Linked DNA regions of Homo sapiens: region 1 is linked to region 2. Evidence: promoter capture Hi-C in 16 types of primary human blood cells and fetal thymus (Javierre and others, 2016). All regions are on one chromosome and are shown on one strand. Each heading gives the region's core, a stretch centred on a gene start or on the middle of the fragment in contact. The rest is flanking DNA. Distances are from core to core; before and after follow the strand shown.

Evidence for each region. The method cuts DNA at HindIII sites, captures the fragments that hold promoters and counts their contacts. A CHiCAGO score of 5 or more calls a contact.
Region 1: a contact is called between a fragment that was not itself captured here and the fragment with the promoter of SMIM12 in region 2, in 1 of 17 cell types (activated CD4 T cells). The highest score is 5.5, in activated CD4 T cells.

What each region holds. Positions count from the first base shown.
Region 1 is chr1:34,988,596-34,995,140 of GRCh38, forward strand. ZMYM6 (zinc finger MYM-type containing 6) reads right to left here. Exons shown (of 16, transcript NM_007167.4): 15 at 3,639-3,792; 16 at 1-340. Among named protein-coding and RNA genes, the nearest start is that of TMEM35B, 6.5 kb to the left of the region's middle. The HindIII fragment of the contact is 2,303 bases long and covers 534-2,836 here.
Region 2 is chr1:34,855,089-34,861,897 of GRCh38, forward strand. SMIM12 (small integral membrane protein 12) reads right to left here and starts at 4,661. Exons shown (of 2, transcript NM_138428.6): 1 at 4,589-4,661; 2 at 1-894. The coding sequence starts at 889. The coding sequence ends at 611. RefSeq lists a silencer at 4,483-4,612. The HindIII fragment of the contact is 6,874 bases long and covers 1-5,341 here.

The DNA of each region.
Region 1 (6,545 bases), core at 435-2,934, 130 kb after region 2:
ACAAGTGACTTTTCAACTAGTAAACACTTTTTTAAAGAACTATTTTGACATTCCATTTCTAAAGATTTTTGTTCAAAAAAATCTACTGGTTTGTTTTCTAATTCTGAATGTTTTGTCTTCAAATGATGAGAAAGATTTGCTGGCTTCATGTTTTCACTGGATAAGATCTCTCCACAAATGACACACTGTGGCCTTGGTGAACTTTCTTTTGATCCAGGACAGATAATAAAACCAACTTTTAAATATTCTGTATCATAAGTCTGGAAAAAACCTAATCTTTTTTTCTTTGAAGGTGGAGAATCAAGTTCTGCATCATTTTTTTCATTAGGCATAGGTAAATCTGAATGAAATATTTGAATCACTGTTATTTTCAAGAACAAATAAGCAATGTTCTTTATGTATCTCCCCACATATTTAAAATTCATATTTTGTTACTATTTCTATTTATCAAAAGAATGCACTGGTAAAAGTTTAAGCACAAGTCATAATACTTCCAATGATGCTACTGAAAACTGAATTTCTCCTTTGCCCAAAGCTTGATCACTAGGTATAATAAAACTGTAGGATGTGGTACATGTACAAGTAATCCCAAGCACCCAATAGGTTATTGAAATTAGGGCTGAAGACCATGATACACATCAAATTAACAATAAACTTTTTGGCTGAGCAGGGTGGCTCACACCTATAATCCCAGTGCTTTGGGACACCAAGGTGGGTGGGTCACTTGAGCCCTGGAGTTAGAGACCAGCCCGGGCAACATGGCGAAACTCCATCTCTACATTAAAAAAAAAAAAAGAAGAAGAAAAAAAATTGGCTGGATGCAATGGCACACACCTATAGTCCCAGCTACTTGGGTAGCTAAAGCAAGAGGATTGCCTGAGCCCAGGAGGTTGAGCCTGCAGAGAGCCATGATCACACCACTGCACTCTTGAGACTACGTCTCAAAAAAAAACAAAAAGAATAAATTTTTTATTGGTGAGTGACACTGGTGTCAAAAAATTTTTTTAAAGAAAAAGAAAAAAAAGGCCAGGCATGGGGCTCACACCTGTAATCCCAGCACTTTGGGAGGCCAAGGCGGGCAGATCACCTGAGGTCAGGAGTTCGAGACCAGCCAGGCCAACGTGGTGAAACCCCGTCTCTACTAAAAACACAAAATTAGCCAGGCATGGTGGTACATGCCTATAATCTCAGCTACTTGAGAGGCTGAGGCAGGAGAATCGCTTGAACCCGGGAGGCGGAGGTTGCAATGTGCCGAGATCATGTCATTGCACTCCGGCCTGGGAGACAAGAGTGAAACTCCATCTCAAAAAAAAGAAAGAAAAGGAAGAAAAAGAGACAGAAAAATAATGTTTTACTTTCAAACAATCCAGAAAAAAAAAGAAAATAAATATTGCAAAAAGTTAACATTTCATTAATCTGGATGAAGAGTATACTAGTATTGACTGTACTGTATATTCAACCTTTCTGAATTTTGATACTCAGTGTCAGTGAGGTTGTAGAGAAATGGATCCTCCTGAACACTGCTGGTTGGAGCATACATTGATGTAACTTTTCAGGAGGGCAATTTAGGCAACAGGTATCAAAATACTTAAGAATAGATGATAGGCCGGCGCGGTGGCTCACGCTTGTAATCCCAGCACTTTGGGAGGCTGAGGCGGGCACATCATGAGGTCACGAGTTTGAGACCAGCGTTGCCAACACTGTGAAATCCCGTCTCTACTAAAAATACAAAAGAAAATTAGCTGGGCATGGTGGCAGGTGCCTGTAATCCCAGCTACTCAGGAGGCTGAGGTAGGAGAATCGCTTGAACCTGGCAGGTGGAGGTTGCAGTGAGCCGAGATCGCGCCACTACACTCTAGCCTGGGTGACAGAGATAGACTCTGTCTCAAAAACAAAAACAAACAAAAAAAAAGATGATAGTCTTTGAATCAACACTTCCACTGATTAGGATTTATCCTAAGGACATAATTAGGCAAGTGGACAAAGATCCATTAACATAGCTTAACCCAACATTGCTTATAATACAAATATCTAAATTTCCAATCTTAACGGAGTTGGTTATATTATATACACTGAAATCTATGTTAAGAATCTCATACCCAGGTAACAAATCTGCACATGTACCCCCGAATAAAATAAAATAAACATAATAAAATAAAAATTGGAAAAAAATAATCTCAATGTATATTTAAATTTATATTGTTGTGGAATAATGTTTCCAATGCAATGTCAAATGAAAAAGTAATTTCGATTGTTAGAAAACATTCGAGATTTATTCTTTTAAAAGAGACGGAGTTTCACTCTTGTTGCCCAGGTTGGAGCACAATGGCGCGATCTCAGCTCACCGCAACCTCTACCTCCCAGGTTCAAGCGATTCTCCTTCCTCAGCCTCCTGAGTGGCTGGGATTACAGTCCTGTGCCACCATGCCCAGCTAATTTTGTATTTTTAGTAGAGATGGGGTTTCACCATGTTGGTCAGGCTGGTCTCAAACTCCTGACCTCAGGTGATCCGCCCATGTTGGCTTGCCAAAGTGCTGGGATTATAGGCATGAGCCACCACGTCTGACCAACAATTCAATATTTAATCTAGAACTCAAAACATAAGCACACACACACACACAAACATACACACACACATACACACATATAGATGCCCACAGATCCTTTAGTACTCTCCATGTGTGAACGTGTATATAATATAAATTCAGGTACAAATAATATATTGTTTTAATAGGAATATAAAATAAATTTCCTGAGGAAGGAAAACAGGATTCTGCTTGACTTCTACCAAAATAAAGGTACCCTACATAAAAACTTACTACTTGTTGACAGACTAAGCTTTTAAATATAGTGTATTCTATGAAGTAAAATTATTATTAAAAACAAAAATCAGGCCAGGGGCGGTGGCTCATGCCTGTAATCCCAGCACTTTGGGAGGCCGAGGCAGGCAGATCACCTGAGGTCAGGAGTTCAAAACCAGCCTGGTCAAAGTGATGAAACCCCGTCTCTACTAAAAATACAAAAATTAGCCGGGCATGGTGGCAGGCACCTGTAATCCCAGCTGCTCAGGAGGCTGAGACAGGAGAATCGCTTGAACCCAGGAGGCAGAGGTTATAGGGAGCCAAGATCACGCTATTGCACTCCAGCCTGGGCAACAAGAGTGAAACTCCATCTCAAAAAAAACAAACAAACAAACAAAAAAAAACCCAGTGCTTTAGGCACAGTAGACTATTAAAGCAATTGAAAATCTAAGGGTAGTGGGATTAAAAGTAATACTTCACAACTTTTTCAAGTAAAGCTCAAACAATTTTCATCGTCACCAATACCTCAGATAAATTAATTGTACTGTTAGCAACTGACAACTGAATTCGCAGTATTTAAAAAAAAAAACAGGTTAAATCACTAATGCTTTTAACTAAAACTGTATGTTAGTAATTATAATAGCTTGTTATGATAGCTGGTTATTAGTGTTAATAATTATGAAAGCAATAAATTAAGTATTCAAAGCATGTGATCCAAGAAAAGGAATGTTTTCACATTTAAGACTCTGTCAATTATTTTCTTTTCCTTTCTTAAAAAACAAAAACAAACAAGCCAGAAAACAAGCTTTGTACATGGGAACGCACAAGGATACATACCTGTCTGACATTCTTTGTGCTGTGTATGTGGTTTGCAAGAAGTGGCCTTGGTCTGTGTGACGGGTTTGCATGATATGCCTTTGTTCTTTAAAAGCCTGGAAGGCTGGGAAGATTGGGAAGATGGAAATTTCATAGCATCTTCCTGTGTACTTTCCTAGTTAAAAGCAAATTCAGAAACCAAAGAAAGATTTTTTTTAGTACCTTATCACTGACTATAATTGCTATCAATTGAAAGTTCATATACATCAAGAGAAATATAATTCCTCTGAAAGAGTGGTTGCAATAAAAAAGTCACCTTGGAAAATACACACAGATTCCTACTTCTCCCAATCAGTATTAGTTTAATTTACTGATTTTAAAAAACATTTATAAATATAAATATAAAAATATATTTATAAACTATAAATATAAAAATATATTTATAAACTATAAATATAAAAATATATTTGTAAATATAAAAATAAAAATATACTTATAAACTATAAAAATAAAAATATACTTATAAACTATAAATATAAAAATATACTTATAAACTATAAATATAAAAATATACTTATAAACTATAAATATAAAAATATACTTATAAACTATAAATATAAAAATATACTTATAAACTATAAATATAAAAATATATTTATAAACTATAAATATAAAAATTATACATATAATATATATTTTTAAAATAAGTATGATCAAAACAATGAAAACAATTGTTAATCTTGCTGATTAGGACAACTGGCTACTCAGAAAAATTAGATCCAACCTCAGACCATACACAAAAATATATTCCACATCAATTAAAGATCTCAGGGAAAAAAAAAGAACTAAAGTCACTAGAGAACTTTCAAATAAACAGATCACAAAGTATTCTTTTCTTTTTTCTTTTTTTTTTTTTTGAGACGGAGTCTCACTCTGTCACTCAGGCTGGAGTACAGTGACACAATCTCAGCTCACTGCAACCTTCGCCTCCCAGGTTCAAGCAGTTCTTGTGCCTCAGCCTCCTGAGTAGCTGGGACCACAGGCGTGCGCCACCACGCCTGGCTAATTTTTTATATTTTTAGTAGAGATGGTGTTTCACCATGTTGGCCAGGCTGGTCTCAAACTCCTGACCTCGTGATCCGCCCACCTCGGCCTCCCAAAGTGCTGGGATTACAGGCGTGAGCCACCACTCCCAGCTGGGATCACAAAGTATTCTTAAATAAAACACAAAAGAGTAAATCAAAGTAGAAAAGACTGATACATTTGACTACCTCAAAATTTAAAACTGCTCAGATGATCCAGGATAATCTCCCTATTTTAAGGTTAGCTGATTAGGAACCCTAATGCCACTTGCTACCTTAATTCACCTTTGCCATGTAATGTAACATATTCACAGATTCTGTGGACAAGGACATGGACATCTTTGGGGGGCTACTATTCTGCCTATCATAATAAAGCTCTTAAAAAGTAAATTAATTTTTTTTTTTTTGAGACGGAGTCTCGCTCTGTCACCCAGGCTGGAATGCAGTGGCATGATCTCAGCTCACTGCAACCTCTGCCTCCTGGATTCATGCCATTCTCCTGCCTCAGCCTCCTGAGTAGCTGGGACTACAAGCACCCGCCACCACGCCCGGCTAATTTTTTTTGCATTTTTAGTAGAGATGGGATTTCACCGTGTTAGCCAGGATGGTCTCAATCTCCTGACCTCGTGATCCACCCACCTTGGCCTCCCAAAGTGCTGGGACTACAGGCGTAAGCCACCGTGCCCGGCCAAAAAGTAAAGTTTTTTAATCCAAAAAAAAAAAAAACTTCTGTAAACAAAGGTCTTTATAAAACAAAGTTATAGGGCAAACAACAGAGTGGAGGAATGTACTTAAAACATGTGTATTCACTCAATATTTATTTCCTGAATGTTTACTACAAGCCAGGCACTGTTCTAAGCCGTGGAGATACCGCAGAAAACAAGACAAAGTTCTGCTCATATGAGCCTTACATTCTAGAGGAAGACACAAAAAATAAACAAGTAAAACAAATAATATATAATTCTAGGTAGTGATAAGTGCGATGAAGAAAATAAAGCAGCGTACAGGAATGGAGAGTGATGGCATGGAGGAGGGGCAATTCTGAAGTAAACATCTGAGCAGAGACCTTTTGAATTATTCAAAAGAGTAAGCCATGCAAAGGTCTAAGGTCTGAAGAGTCCAGGCAGGCAGACTATAGGTGCAAAAACCCTGAAGTGGGAGAAAGCTTGGCATGCTTTAGGAACATCAACAAGAACAAGGCTGAAAGACAGTAAGCAAGGGGAGAATGATACATTTGGAGAGGTAGGCAGAAACTAAATTGTATAGGATCTGGAAGGTCTCAGTCAAAAACAAAATTAGGATTGTATTTTAAATGTGATGGGAAGCCATTGGAGGTTATATTTAAATTTAATTTAAACAAAAGTAATACATGAACTCAGTGCAAAATTCAAAATGTACAGAAGTATTGCGTTGGTACAAAAATAATTGTGGTTTTTGCAATTAAAGTAATATACACATGAATGACTGCCGTCCACCCAGACTCAACCTTGAACACAACCACTGTTCCCAGTTTCTTATACAGTTGTTCCCCCTTATCTGCCGGGAATATGTTCCAAGACCCCCAGTGGTTGCCTGAAACCATGGATCATACCGAAGCCTATACACACATGTATATATGTGTGTATATATAGACATATATATATATATGTATACATATATCCATAATATATCATAATATGGATATATACATATCTATATGTATATATGTATACATATATACTTACATACGTATATATATGTAATATATATACTTACATACGTATATATATGTAATATATATACTTACATACGTATATATGTATGTATATACGTAAGTATATATGTATACATATACATATATACACAC
Region 2 (6,809 bases), core at 3,411-5,910:
TGATGGGGGTAGAAGATGGTGACTGTTTTCAAGCAAATTCACGAGGCACATGTTCGTCCCTGCCCCAAAGTGAACAGTCTGGGCTTCCCAGAACAGAAAAGTGCTTTCCTTCCTGGGGGAATCCCATTCCTGAGCTGACAAGACAGATTTCAGTAAGAATGAGCACAAAGGATAGGGCAAAATAGTGAAGGGAGCCAGGTGCATATTTGAATTCTTTCCAGTGCAGACTGGAACTAGACATGCAGGTATCCCTCCTAAAGGCAACGCCCAAATCCCAGCCATTCCCACTAGAGGCCAAACCGCCTGCCCACAGAGATTGACAGCCAATGTTCATCTCATAACTCTCCTCCCAGCAGTGCACCAGTAAACTCAGATGCCTGAGTGCTTGTGGCCACCACACAACAGATGCGGCCTTCCTCTTCACTGGCCCCTCGGCTGCTGCTGGGTCTGCCTGGCCATCAAGGAGCAGCCAGTATTTGTGTGGCTGTGTGGTGTGGGAAGGGCCAGAATAAGCAACAAAGCCAATTAGATGTGGGTTCTGGGGCTCTGTCAACATGGTAGCAGGACAAGTCACCACCCACAGTAGGACCATAGGGCCCTGTGTCCTCCATTAATTCTTCTCTGGGCGGTTTCTGTTCAGCACAGCTTTCGGGGCAAATTCTAGCTTGTCCTTAAGGCTCACCACCTGCGTGTGGTCCTTGCCTAGAAGCTCATCCAGCTTGCGATCCTCCCGGCGCTCTGAGATGCTCTTTTCCTCCTCCACGGGCTGGGGGTCCTTTCCCCTGATGAACCATTCCAGGTGGTAACCCACAGCCCCGACCACGAAGGCAACAGGGAATGTGACATAAGGAGCATAGGTACGAACCACGGTCCAAAACACAGGCCACATGACATCTGCGGAAAAGCACAAGGCAGCATTAGAGAACCCAGCATCATCTCCCACCAAATAAGAGCAACCCACTAGAGCTCTCCACTTACCAGGCAGCCTGGCACAATTTTTTTTTTTTTTTGAGACGGAGTCTTGCTCTGTCGCCCAGGCTGGAGTGCAGTGGCACGATCTCAGCTCACCGCACCCTCCACCTCCCAGGTTCAAGCAATTATCTGCCTCAGCCTCCCAAGTAGCTGGGATTACAGCTAATTTCTGTATTTTTTTAGTAGAGACAGGGTTTCACCATGTTGGTCAGGCTGGTCTTGAACTCCTGACCTCGTGATTCACCCACCTCAGCCTCCCAAAGTGCTGGAATTACAGGCGTGAGCCACCACACCTGGCCAGCCTGGCACAATTTACTGAGCACCCACCCCCGTGCAGAGCAATGCGAGAGGTGGATCCCTGAAATAATCTAGGAAATTTCAAAAGATTCCATTGTTAGGGAAGAAGGAAGGATCTCCATTTTACGGACCGTACTCTTTGACAAGTGTGCACCAATATATGACAATGTTCCCCACAAGGGGACCTCTGAGCCTTACCTAATAGAGCTTCAAGCCTATTGTTGACCCCAGGACCTAGTCTGCCAACATTTCAAGAAGGGAAAAAGATGCCTTTCTCTGCTCTATGAAATTTCTCCATGAGCACAGCCGGCCACCTTTTCCCCATGAAACACAATCTACGATGAATCTCCTGGTTTCACAATATGAAAAGTCGTTCCTTTTCCTCATGTAAAGCATAAGGAGCATATTTAAACAGTCAAATACATAATGCATTACCTAATTATTCTGGATTTTAGGTAAATAGATAATGGTTTTATCCTGTTCTGAACCTGGCTTTTCTAACAATGGAACAAACCTATACTTTACAAATCTGCTGACTAAACCATTTTCAAAATATCCTATCTTGGCTAAAGACGGTGGCTCACACCTGTAATTCCAGAACTTTGGGAGGCTTGTAATCCCCATTACTCAGGAGGCTGAGGCAGGAGAATCACTTGAACCTGGGAGGCGGAGGTTGCAGTGAGCTAAGATCAAGCCACTGCACTCCAGCCTGGGCGGCAGAACGAAACTCCGTCTCAAGAAAAAAAAAAAAATCCTATCTTCAACCAAACCCATACCTTCATATTTACATAAAAAGCTCCTGAAAATATCACAAATCATTATACATACTCTGGATACCGCAGAACCTGAAGATTTTCTGTGAAAAATCACTGTACAAGCCCGGGGGGTGGGGTGGGGTGGGGTGGGGCGGGGAGCGGAGTGGAATGGCCTCAGGGCCTCCTGAATTGAAGTAGGGCAATACCAAAGTAATGTAAAAACACACAAATTGGATCACTCTAATGGCCAATTCCATCTCAAATGATTATTACCATTATCAATTATCAAAGATCATTCACAGTTATAATAACACAGCTACCATTTATTGAGCACTTACATGCCAGGCCTTGGGCTAGGTGCTTCATATACACTCACTCTCTTAATCCTCATGTCCACCACGTGAGGTAGATACATAACCCACTATCAGAGGGTTAAGAGACTTGCCCAAAAGTATCCACTAAAAGATCTTTCTGTTTATGCCCCTGTAGGTATTTCTCCAACACTACTATCTCTGATCTAAAGTGAACAATCGAAACCTCACCAAGGATAAGATGATTCTCCCCCTCTCTCTTTGGTTCCAATTCTCTTTGAAGGAATCCCAATGTTCTCTAGACGTAACACTATAAGGCAGCGGTCCCCAATCTATATTTGGCACCAGGGACCAGTTTCGTGGAAGACAATTTTTCCACAGATGGGGGTTGGAGAGGGATGGTTTCGGGATGAAACTGTTCCAGCTCAGATCATCAGGCATTAGATTCTCATAAGGGGCACACAACGTAGATCCCTCACATGCGCAGTTCACAATAGAGTTTGCACTCCTGTGAGAATCTAATGCCGCTGCTGATCTATCAGAAGGTGGAGCTCAGGCGGTAATGCTTGCCAGCTTGCCCACCGCTCACCTCCTGCTGTGCAGCCCAGTTTCTAATGGGCTGAAGACCACCACTGGTCTGTGGCCCAGGGGGTTAAGGACCCCTGCAATAAGGCAGCATCATGAAATTTAAAAAAAAAAAAAAAATTGCAGCATCTCCAAGACTCCCCCGCTTATTGTCTCAGCACCAGGCACTATGATGACAATTTACACACTAATCATCATTTGATCCTCATAACACCTCTATGATGTAGGAATTATTAGCCCAGACTCTTGTGAAGGCCACAAAGGCTCACAGACATTATGTTAACTTATCCAAGATCACTAGAAGTGATAGAGCCACTGATTTTGAACCCAGGCCTCTCCAATTTCAAAGCCTACACTCTTTCTAGTGGGAAGAACACACTGCAGAGGTATACGGTTTCTGTCCAAACCCTGGACTTAGGGAGAGCTTCCTACAGTTTTTTCCCATCAGCCTGGCATTTCATTACCTAGAAGAGCTTTCCTTTTCCCAAACTCTGAGATTGTACTCAGGGATTTATGAAATTCAGAGACATAGTAATAGTTAAAAGAGGCACCTCTGAAGAATCCCAAACCTAATACTTCTCCATTTTACTTCCACCTTTAAAGCAAGTCCTCTGTATAAGTAAATGCTTCCCTAAATAGCAACTGTCCGTTCAGATTTCCAAACCTGTCTTAAAACATATCGCGCATGAGTTCACAACTATCTCTCACATGCAGCATAAAGTCTCTCGCTACCGTCCTGCTCACATTCTAATCATTCCCAAATAAGTCAATTCATTCCTTTATTCGACACTTATAACCACTTACTCTGTGTCAGGCACGATGCTGGCTTACCCTGTCTGCGTTTCTCAAGACACTTTAAGCTCCAAAAGGCTAAGAACCGTGTCTGTCTGGCCCAATTATGCCCTATCCATCCAGGCACCTCTCCTACCCTGCCTGGCAGAGTGCCCAAAAAAGGTCTGCTGAACGAATGAATGACAGCCCAAACTCCCTAGTGTAAAATCACAACATCCTCCACCCACTCTCCCCCAAAAGGTGGCAGGAGCATAACAGATGCCTTTGCTGATTACAAAAACCTAAAGACTCCATCATAGTCGTCCCCAGGCAGGGTATCACAATGAAAGAGGCAAAAGTGTCTGAAAAACACTGTGACGCATATTTCCAGCCCGGCATGGAGGACGTCTGCCAAAAGCATCCGGTAAAGGTCAACTGGGCTGCTGGGAAACCTGCCCCAGTGCGAGGGCCCGGAGGCCCAACGAGGCCAGAAGCCGTAGTCCCAAATTCAAGAACTACTAACAAGGACACAGGAGGCCTGAGAAGGCGGAAGAATTAGCCCTGACAGTCACTAGAGCGCAGTCCAGGAATGGGAGCGCAAGTAAGGCGAAGGTCCATCCAAATGGCTACCCTTCTCCCTTCTGTGAGTCTCCCGGTCCCCTGTCCCTAGCCCACCTCATTCATGGCCTCATCAACGTCCGTCCTCATTGAGGTGCCGAGAAGCCCTGTCTGCGGAGGGCTACCTGGGCTCCCAGACTTGGCACCAGAACACCCGCCAGAGAGGGGAGCTGGCAGATCTGGCCGGGACCGGGGTGGACCCTAGCGATCACTCCTCCCGTAACTCAGAGGTTACTGGCCTGGGCTGACCCGACCTGCTCGCCGGGACCGCGCGCTCACCTGCGGCCCAGCCCACACTCCCCAGTGCGGCCCCCGCTCTCCGCCCGCTCGCCGGGAGCACGGAAGTCGCCGCACCCAGCGGCCCGCGGGACCTTGCCCTGTGACCCTGCCCACTGGCCGCCGGCTCTCTCGGAGCGCAGGGATTGGCTGAACTTCAGCCAAAGGACGGAAGGAAGCTAGGCGTCCGCAACTGGGCCCCACTGCGCTGAAATGGACGTCGCGCCCTCTGTTGGCCGGGAGGTTTCTCAGTGATGTCGCCACGTGTTTTCTGCGTGGAAAAAGTGAAAGATCATCCAGTCATTTTTTTCAACTGATGTTTATTAGGCGTCTTCTAAGACCTAGGTCTGGGCACGCAAAAACAAAAGACATGATCCCTGACCTCAAGAAGCTCTTCTTAGAAGAGTATATTTTAGTGCTTTAAGACCTCTTGGGATCCGGGCTAGCTTTCTAGTGACCTTGGGAACATTATTAACCTGTCTGAGCCTCCCTTCCCCTTCTGTGTAGAGGTAATAACACCCATTTCGCAAGGATGGTGTGAGGGTTGGAAGAGATAATATTTGTAAAGTACTGTGGCAGGCACACAGCCAGCAGGGAAATAAATGTGGCTATTGTTAGTGTAAAAATAATTCAAATATAGTAAAACCTAAGTCTTACATGACCTCTTGGGTACAAGTATTCACTTCCTCCTCTGTGTCCCCACTGTACCCTATACAGACATCAATTTTATCATATACAGAAAAGTCCCAAAGCTCAAGCTTGTTAATGCTCCCACAAGGCCCTTCCCACCCTCATCCCACTAATCTCAGCCTGCATATTTATTTTGCTCGCACATACTAAACCCGGCAGACCACACTGTTTCACACCTCAGTGCCTTATTGATGCTTTTTCATCTACCTTCCCACCTTTTTTGTTGTTGTTGTTCAATTTCACTCTTGTTGCCTGGGCTGGAGTGCAATGGCGTGATCTCGGCTCACCGCAACCTCCGCCTCCCAGGTTCAAGTGATTCCCCTGCCTCAGCCTCCTGAGTAGCTGGGATCACAGGCATGCACCACCACGCCCGGCTAATTTTGTATTTTTAATAGAGAAGGGGTTTCTCCATGTTGGGGAAGCTGGTCTCGAACTCCCGACCTCAGGTGATCTGCCCGCATCGGCCTCCCAAAGTGCTGGGATTACAGGCGTGAGCCACTGCGCCTGGCCGCTTTTTTTTTTTTTTTTAACAGGACTCTCGCTCTGTTGCCCAGGCTAGAGTGCAGTGGCACAATCATAGCTCACTGCAGCCTCAACCTCCTGGGCTCAAGTGATCCTCCCACTTCAGCCTTCCGAGTAGCTGGGACCACAGATGCACACCACCAGGCCTGGCTAATTTTTGTACTTTTTGTAGAGACTGGGTTTCACCATGTTGCTAGGGCTGGTCTCGAACTCCTGAGCTCAAGCAATCCGCCCGCCTCAGCCTCCCAAAGTGCTGGGATTACAGGCATGAGCCACCGTGCCTGGCCATGTAGTGCCCTTCCCACCTTTCTTTACTATGCCAGATTGTGCTCTGGCACAATTTTCAAGCTTAAGGGTCACCTCCAGAGGAAGCCTCATACATAGACTGCTTATCACATTAGACACCCTTCCTCTATTATCTCAAACAGCTCAAAGCTAAGCTCTGGCAGTGAAGATGGAGAAAAGGGAACAGTATTGTAGGGGCCAAGGTTCACTGAAAATCAACTGACAAAAGGCAGATTAATAGGAGAAAAGACATACAAAATTTTATTTTAACGTGCATAGCACGGGGCGGGGAGGCGAGGGGGTGGGAAGGGAAGGGTCACAGGAGAATGATTACCCAATAACCCAATGGGGTACAGAAGCGTATACACTCTTTTTCATAGGGGAAGGGGAGAGATGGAGAATATAGACAATTCTTCTGAGGGCAGCAAGTGATTCTTAGGGCGAAAAAATGGACAGAAATTAACTTGTAAATGATTCTCTTTAGAATTTGAATGAGCCCGAGAAACAGGCATCATCTTGTGAAAAATCCATCCAGGCGTAGTTGCCTTCCTCAGTCTTCTTTTCTGAGCTAGATGAGATTTCGGAGAGGGGAGGAAGGCAATTTTGTTTCTTTTGGAAAGACGTTTTCTCGATCAGATTAGGAAATTCTAGAGAGAGTGCCTCCCTATACTTGGGAGAGAAGGTTAGAGGGACCTTGATTCTGAGGCAGCTTCGAAGGCCTCTCAGC